Regions from separate parts of the Homo sapiens genome. Here regions 1 and 2 are each linked to region 3. Evidence: promoter capture Hi-C in 16 types of primary human blood cells and fetal thymus (Javierre and others, 2016). All regions are on one chromosome and are shown on one strand. The core of a region is centred on a gene start or on the middle of the fragment in contact, and the rest is flanking DNA. Distances in the headings are between cores, read along the strand shown.

Region 1 (2,700 bases), core at 49-2,548, 210 kb after region 3:
TCTCATTCTCCATGTTGCTTCTCATGATTTTTGAGAGGAGGGAGGAAAATGCTAATTTTATTCTACCATACACAAACCAGAAGTCCAAAAAAAACAATTTTTTTCTTTTTTTGAGACAGGGTCTTGCTCTGTCGCCCAAGCTGGAGTGCAGTGGTATGCTCTGGGCTCACTGTAACCTCTGCCTCCCAAGTTCAAGCGATTCTTGTGCCTCAGCCTCCGAAGTAGCTGGGATTACAAGCACAGGCCACCATACCGGGCTATTTTTGTATTTTTAGCAGAGACGGGGTTTCATCATGTTGGCCAGGCTGGTCTTGAACTCCTGACCTCAGGTGATCCACCCACCTCAGCCTCCCAAGGTGTTGGGATTACAGGCGTGAGCCACTGTGCCTGACCCAACAAAAACAATTTTGAAGAGGAACAAGAATAAGCTTTCACCACCAGCTATCATGATTAAAACTATGGTCTTGGCACATGGATAGCTGTGTGTCTTTGTCCCTCTTTATCCATCCTAATGGAACAGAATTGGCAGCCTAGAAAGAAATCCAACGGGTGCAGGAGTTTGGCTCTGACAGAGGTGGCATAACAAACCATGAAGGAAAGAATGGACTAAGCGGTACGTGGTGCTGAAAAAGCTAATATTAGATCCTTACCTTCCACCATACAAAGTACATTCTAGACTAAATACCTACACAGTGTCCGTTTAAATATAGAGGCCCTGGCCGGGTGCAGTGGCTCACACCTATAATCCCAGCACTTTGGGAAGCCGAGGCGGGCGAATCACTTGAGGTCAGGAGTTTGAGACCAGCCTGGTCAACATGGTGAAACCCTGTCTCTACTACAGATACAAAAATTAGCCAGGTGTGGTGGCACACACCTGTAATCCCAGCTACTTGGGAGGCTGAGGCAGAAGAATTGCTTGAACCCAGGAAGCAGAGGTTGCAGTAAGCTGAGATCACACCATTGCACTCCAGCCTGGGCAACAGGCTCCATCTCAAAATAAATAAGTAAAAATAAATAAAAAATAAAAATGGTGGGCCTAACATACACTCTTCTCCCCATGGAAGCCCCTTTCCTCTGAAAAGACAGTAAAGGAATTTAAGAAGTATCAAGCCAAAAGGACAAAGGGAATGAACAGGACAGGAGAGAGCAGCACACAGCGCTGGCAGAATTTTAGAAGCTGGAAAGGGGATGGCTGGAGGGTGACAGAGTCAGCAGCAGGGAGAAGGTGGCACCAAGTATGCAGAGGACCTGGCCAGCCAAAAGGAAGTGGGTTTGTAACGCAGAGCCTGCGCAAGGCAGTAGGTGCTTCTGAAGGGGGGTGTTCAGCATGGGGCTGAAAGAGAGGAGAAGCTGAAAGTCTTCCAGAGACCACTCCCATTACATGCAGCCAGGCAGCTGCCCCTCCCTGCTCCAAGCGGAACACTGGCCTCTTCTCTGGCAAGGCTGTGCCATATACATGTTCAACTTGGTGACCTTGGCAACCCCAGACTCAGCTGAGGATGGAGGGAGGTAACAGCCTGGAAAGAGCATGGGTGAGTGGATGCTGACTTCCAGGAAAATTCCTCTCTGGGGAAATGGACCAGCTCAAGAGGAAAAAGCCACAGAGACTTCCATTCTGGGGCTTCCCAATAACCTTTCTTTTCTTTTTTCTTTTTTTATTAATAGAGACAGGTTCTCGCTGTGTTGCCTAGACTGGCCTTGAACTCCTGGGCTCAAGCGATCCCCCTGCCTTTGCCTCCTAAAGTGCTGGGATCACAGGTGTGAGCCACCTTGCCCAGCCCCCAATAACCTTTCATATGACAAGTTGCTAAGCCTCACCTAGAATCAAGGACATAGAAATCAAAGCAACAGTGAGATATAATGTCCCATAAAATTGGAAAAAGTTAATGGATTTTCTAAAACCAAATGGTGGTAAATATGTGGGAAACCTGAACTCATACTCACGCTGATGGTTTTTGGTAAACTAGTACAACTACTTGGGAGTTTGTCAATACCTAGTGAAGTTGCAGATGCTTAGACCCTATGTCGACTTTCATACATGGACACAAGGAGACAGGTGTACAAGGATATGTGTCGTAGCACTGTTCACAATAGTAAAAATGTGGGAACAACCTAACTGTGCCCCAAGAATGGAATGAATATAGTTGATAAGTTGTCTCTTAAAAAAAAAAAGCTTTTCCGCCATCTTCCCACGACGCCACCATGGTGTGCGTGAACGTCCTGGCCGATGCTCTCAAGAGCATCAACAATGCCGAAAAGAGAGGCAAACGCCCAGTGCTTATTAGGCCGTGCTCCAAACTCATCGTCCGGTTTCTCACTGTGATGATGAAGCATGGTTACATTGGCGAATTTGAAATCATTGATGATCGCAGAGCTGGGAAAATTGTTGCGAACCTCACAGGCAGGCTAAACAAGTGTGGAGTGATCAGCCCCAGATTCGGTGTGCAACTCAAAGATCTAGAAAATGGCAGAATAATCTGCTTCCATCCCACCAGTTTGGTTTCATTGTACTGACAACCTCAGCTGGCATCATGGACCATGAAGAAGCAAGACGAAAACACACAGGAGGGAAAATCCTGGGATTCTTTTTCTAGGGATGTAATACATATATTTACAAATAAAATGTCTCATGGAAAAAAAAGAAAAAAGACAGGGTCTTGCTCTGTCACCCAGGCTGGAGTGCAGTGGCACAATCATGGC
Region 2 (2,700 bases), core at 183-2,682, 230 kb after region 3:
ATCAGGTGACCTGACGGCCATGGGCAGGCTGCATCACCATTCTGGGTCCTCCCCATATTCTTGATTCTCCAAGGTTCCCTCATCTTTAGAAGACAAAGAATCCCTGCCTTATAAACTGTGCTTTAATTTTTCTAACTATAGGCTGCAGTTACCCAAACAAGATGCTGTCAAAAATCTTAAGAGTTGTATTTAACGCTGTCTCTTTCTTGCCGTGTATTATTAAGGTCACACGTGGAGATTCTGGGCAATTACAGATAGTGCCTTCTCCTCCCACAGAAATCTCCATGTCAGACATGTAGTAGAGAAAAATCTGAAGGGAAGTACTGAAGGTCTACCAAAACTTTTCAAGCCATCAGAGAATGTCCTTTTATGTACTTTCGTCAGTCACTGTCATTCAGATGCATAAGTAGCCAGCTGATGGAAAAAATACACAGCTGGGTTGGGGAATTCTGAGTTTCAGGATTTTGACTAACTGGCTCAAATTCAATGCGTTTTGTCACCAATACTGGAGATAGTCTCCAGCCCCAGAGAATACAGGCTTCACATGTACCATACTAAAAGTGGAGTTCAGTGTGCTGCTAAGGCCAAGTAAGTATAGACAAAGCCCTTCACTGGCAGTCCTCGTTTTGGAGGTTGTGCAAGCTGCCTCTGAATTTCTGAGATCACACATTTACAGCCAGGAATCTTCTCTGGCTCATCCTCAAGATCCCTAGGGTGATCATTATTTTCTTACAAAAAAAAAGCACGCAAATAAAGGGAATTTATTATGGTTGAGATAGGGTCTTGCTCTGTCACCCAGGCTGGAGTGCAGTGGCATGATCATGGCTCACTGCAGCCTCAACCTCCCAGGGCTCAAGTGATCCTCCCACCTCAGCCTGTAACTGGGCCTAAAGGTGCATACCATCATGTCTGTCTAATTTTTGTACTTTTTGTAGAGACAGGGTCTTGCCATGTTGCCCAGGCTGGTCTCGAACTCCTGGGCTCAAGCAACCTGCCCACCTCGGCCTCCCAAAGTGCTGGGGTTATAAGCATAAGCAACCGCACCTAGCTAGGAATTTATTTCATTACCAAATAATTTAACAGGGAGGAGGGAGAAATATAATTCAAATCCAGAGATGAAGCCAAGAATTCAGAGGGAATAAAGGGTGCCTAGAACCTGCATCAACCTGTCTGTAGACCTCAGAGGTCCTACTAAGTACCTTCCAGCACTGTGCCACCTTCTTTTGCAGTGTGAAAATGAGGATTTGCAGTATATGTGACATCTCCTTAGGCCTTGAGAGTCTGTGATGATGAGTATTGATGATATATGCTACTTAAGAAAGAAAATGCATGCTCAATATGGACCACCACCTTAGATAGCCTTACTTATGTTTCATATATTTATTAAAGGGCACAATTAAATTTTATTTTGCAAGTCGAGCCTACCTTAAAATCAGCTTAAAAAGGTGAAATATCCGCTGGCTAATGAAAAAACAAAACCTTTTTATTTTTCCCATTACTTGGTTCTTTTTAGCAACGATGCATTGTTCTGCCACTTTCACCCCAATGTTGGTTTCAGGTTCACCTTAGAGCAAAGTGTAGGATGATACTGTCCATTGCCGATTTTCTGATTTTTTTTTTTTTTTTTTTTTTTTGAGACCAAGTCTCACTGTCACCCAGGCCAGAGTGCAGTGGCACAATCTTGGCTCACTGCAACTTCCACTTCCCAGGTTCAAGTGATTCTCCTGCCTCAGCCTCCTGAGTAGCTGGGATTACAGGTGTGCACCACCACACCTGGCTAATTTTTGTATTTTTAGTAGAGACAGGGTTTTACCACATTGGCCAGGCTGGTCTCAAACTCCTGACCTCAGGTGATGCACCTGCCTTGGCCTCCCAAAGTGCTGGGATTACAGGCATGAGCCACTACGCCTGACCTCTCTGATGTCTAATTTCTTCAAGTTGGCCCCCACCATGGTTTTTTAACCAATATAGCTTTCCCTGAAAATCACTTAAGCAAAACCAAAAACAATGGGAAGTCACATTTTTTTTGGATTTATTTAAAGAACACACAAAAAAGTGCATCTAAATGATTTTTTTTTTTTAAAAACAATGTCTTTAATTCCTCATATGCTGACTTGGCAATCCATATGCAGCCTAAAAGGTGGTTGAAAGATGTCTGTGGACTTCTACACAAATTGTTTAAGATTATTGAATTTGATACAAGAATACGTGAAGTGTCTTCTTGAGTGGTAATGGGCACCCTGTAGTTATTTGCTCAGAACCACTCACACACCCTTCCCCTCCCCACACACACTTTTGCCAGTTCCCCCTGGTGAACCATAATACACACGTGGGAGACAGCTGGCATCATCTGAGTCTTGGAATAGCTTTCTTGTTTGTTATCTGCAAAAAGCTAGGTGGCCTTTTTAGTATCAAATTTCAATCTTGGCCTCACTGGAACCATGCTCTACAGAGCTTTCCCAACAGTTTAGCAAGTAAGCAAAATCAGCTTTTGCTCTTCATATTTCGTAGGTGAGACTGGGGCTTTTAAAAGAAATATTTCATAAAAAAGACAAAAGCATAAATGAGAAATTAGAGGGATTTTAGTTATCATTAAAGGAAAAAACTCACAAATTGATCCCATTTGTTCCATGGGGAAGAAAAGTATTATAAAAGGAAATAACTTGATTTTTAGGTTTGAAGGGGGTCCCAATCTAATAA
Region 3 (2,700 bases), core at 1-2,500:
GGAGGTTGACATCTAAGTTACAAATATAATGCACAAGCATTTCAAAAAGTAGGGGAAAAAAAAGAAAAAGAAAAAGAGAAGCAGAAAGAAGGGGGAAAAAATCACTCATCCCTGCCAGGCACGGTGGCTCACGCCTGTAATTCCAGCACTTTGGGAGGCTAAGGTGGGAGGATAACTTGAGTCCAGGAGTTCAAGACCAGCCTGGGCAACATGGCAAAACCCTGTCTCTACTAAAATTACAATAATTAGCTGGGCGTGTGGCGCATGCCTGTAATCCCAGCTACTTGGGAGGTTGAGGCAGGATAATCGCTTGAACCCGGGAGGCGGAGGTTGCAGCGGGCTGAGATTGCGCAACTGCACTCCAGCAGGGGCGACAGAGTGAAACTGTGTCTCAAAAAAAAAAAAAAAAAAAAAAATCACTCATCCAGATAGCTAGGTGTGGCCTAAGGAGCTTGCGGCCTACGGAAGGTGTGGCCGAAGGAGAGGGGAGGGGTCATCTTTAATGATGATGGAGGGGAGGCATTGGTCATATACCTGAGAGTCAAGCTTTGTTCATCGTCAGATGAAAGCCAACTTCTTCCACCAGATTGCCTCCCAGCTGCTAGGTAGTTTCCTGTGGTACATCTTAAGCGGTAGGTTGGGATAATAGGTCCCTTCCAGGTCTTAAAGATGTGGATTAATAAGAACAGAATTTTCTACAACAATAAGGAGGATGTCCCCTATTTTAGGTGAATAAGCGTATTGCATAAGCACATGGGAAGAAAGGTTAAGAACTCTAAGACCGTAAATTTCCAGTTGTAGAAGCCTCTTGAAGGCGGAAAGCCCTTTTTTGAAAATTATAGGCGATATGATCTCCTCCAGTGGACCTAGCACTGGGTTAAGAGTCTCTCCAGACTTGTCACTGCAAGTCACGTACCTTTTCTAGGACTAAGTTTCTTCACTGGAAGATGAGGAGGTTGCACTAGATGACCTAGAAATTCCCTTCCAGCTTTAAATTCCCTCTTGTGTCACTTGCTGGACTTGTTCTACTGGACCTGGCGCTCCCCTGCTCCTCCCTTAGCTGCTACGTCCGCATCCCGCACCAGAGGGCGCCACAGGCTGGCCCGGGGCAGCGTGCGGTGGGCGGAGAGGCAGAATTAGGGGAGTCTCCAGGAGGCGTGGTGATTGGCCGCCGCCGGGCGGAAGGGGGCGTGGGGAGGGAAAGGCCGAGCAGCGCGGTGACGTCTCGCTGGCGGGGGCGGGGCCGGGCCGCGGAGCGTGTGACGCTGCGGCCGCCGCGGACCTGGGGATTAATGGGAAAAGTTTTGGCAGGAGCGGGAGAATTCTGCGGAGCCTGCGGGACGGCGGCGGTGGCGCCGTAGGCAGCCGGGACAGGTCAGTCCGAGACGAGAGAAGCGGTCAGGCAAGTGGCGGAGGGAAGCGCCGGGCCTGGGCCGAGGCGGCCAGCGGGACTGGGGCGCAAGGCCCGGCGGCGGGGAACGGGGTGCGGGGAGCTGCCGGGGTCCGCGGACAGCGTCACGGCGGCTTCCTGATGCTCCGGCCCGCTCCGGTCAGCCGTCGTGCGTTGCCATGTAGGCGCCCCGCTGACCCTGCGCCCCCCCGCCCTTGGACCCCCATAGCTGCTTGAGTGAGTCCGAAATACGGGCCTCCTTCCACCCTACTCTTTGCCCCCTCTTGGGCCTGGTGGCTTCGTCTTCTCCCACTTGTGAGAACCCCGTCTCAGGCCCGGGGGCCTCTCCCATTCCCCTCCCCTGCCTCTGACCTCTTCCTTCACCCGTTTCTGGTGTTCCTGAATCCACTGCCCTATCTAGCGAGAGTCTTCTCTGGGATCTTTTCCTCTGTCCCCCTCGTTATCCTTGTCTCCTGCCTTCATCCTCCCATCCTTGCTCTCTCAGGCTTTACTCTCTCTCCCCATCCCTGTCCCCTTCTTATCTGTGGTCTGATCCCTCCTAGTATTATGGGTCCCCATCCTCTTCCCCAGGGTGTTCCTAGGCTTTTTCCAACTCCGTGCCTGCAGTCCCTGTCTCCCTAAGACTCTCACCTTGGTTCCCTGAGAGGCCCTGTTTTTGCTCCTTTTTCCGATTTCCTTCGTATCAATTCTGTCCCCTACATTCCTGTCGCCCACCTCCTTTTCTCTCCCTGTTCCTTTCCCCTGCTTCAGGGAGAAGCCTTAGCTCCACACTCTACTCTACTTTCACTTGACCTGCAGTTGACATAACCATGGGGTGGGGGTGGAGGTGTTCAGACCTTGATCGAATTAAGAGGCTGATTGACTAAAGGAAATAACAGATTGTGTGGGAGAATGTACGTGGGTGTTGCATCAGAGATGATGTCCAATTTGTAGGCCATTCTTCTTATCTCAGCTTTAATACTTCCCCTTTATGGGGCTGTTGACTTCCAGGAACCCTTGGGGGAGACGGCGCTGAGCTGGATGTGTGCCACGGGTAGCCGGAGGCTTTGTCCAATTCTTTTCCCCTTCCAGGAACCGGGGTTTTGTGTCTTTCCACTCTGGATGTGTGGAATACACTTATACCATGATACCCCAGCCTCTCTCTGCCCTCACTCCCACCCTCCACCCTGTGCTCCATCCGAAAGGACTAAGAGAATTCTCCAGAAGCTGTGCTCCAGAAAATACTTGTGGTCCTCAACCTTTTTTCTGTGTACTGGCTCCAGAACTTTTTTTTTTCCCGTTTGAGTTTT

Evidence for each region. Contacts are between HindIII fragments. The CHiCAGO score rates a contact against its expected background, and 5 or more counts as called.
Region 1: a fragment that was not itself captured here is called in contact with the fragment with the promoter of PPARD in region 3 in 8 of 17 cell types (total CD8 T cells, non-activated CD4 T cells, naive CD4 T cells and 5 more); the score reaches 9.5 in total CD8 T cells.
Region 2: a fragment that was not itself captured here is called in contact with the fragment with the promoter of PPARD in region 3 in 2 of 17 cell types (naive CD4 T cells and total CD8 T cells); the score reaches 5.7 in naive CD4 T cells.

What each region holds. Positions count from the first base shown.
Region 1 is chr6:35,553,671-35,556,370 of GRCh38, forward strand. It overlaps the pseudogene RPS15AP19. Among named protein-coding and RNA genes, the nearest start is that of LINC03135, 11 kb to the left of the region's middle. The HindIII fragment of the contact is 1,745 bases long and covers 427-2,171 here.
Region 2 is chr6:35,571,575-35,574,274 of GRCh38, forward strand. It overlaps FKBP5 (FKBP prolyl isomerase 5), which reads right to left. Exons shown (of 11, transcript NM_004117.4): 11 at 2,016-2,700. Among named protein-coding and RNA genes, the nearest start is that of LINC03135, 29 kb to the left of the region's middle. The HindIII fragment of the contact is 3,206 bases long and covers 1-2,700 here.
Region 3 is chr6:35,341,308-35,344,007 of GRCh38, forward strand. It overlaps PPARD (peroxisome proliferator activated receptor delta), which reads left to right and starts at 1,251. Exons shown (of 8, transcript NM_006238.5): 1 at 1,251-1,374. RefSeq lists silencers at 1,103-1,312, 1,493-1,632, 1,663-1,712. The HindIII fragment of the contact is 7,732 bases long and covers 545-2,700 here.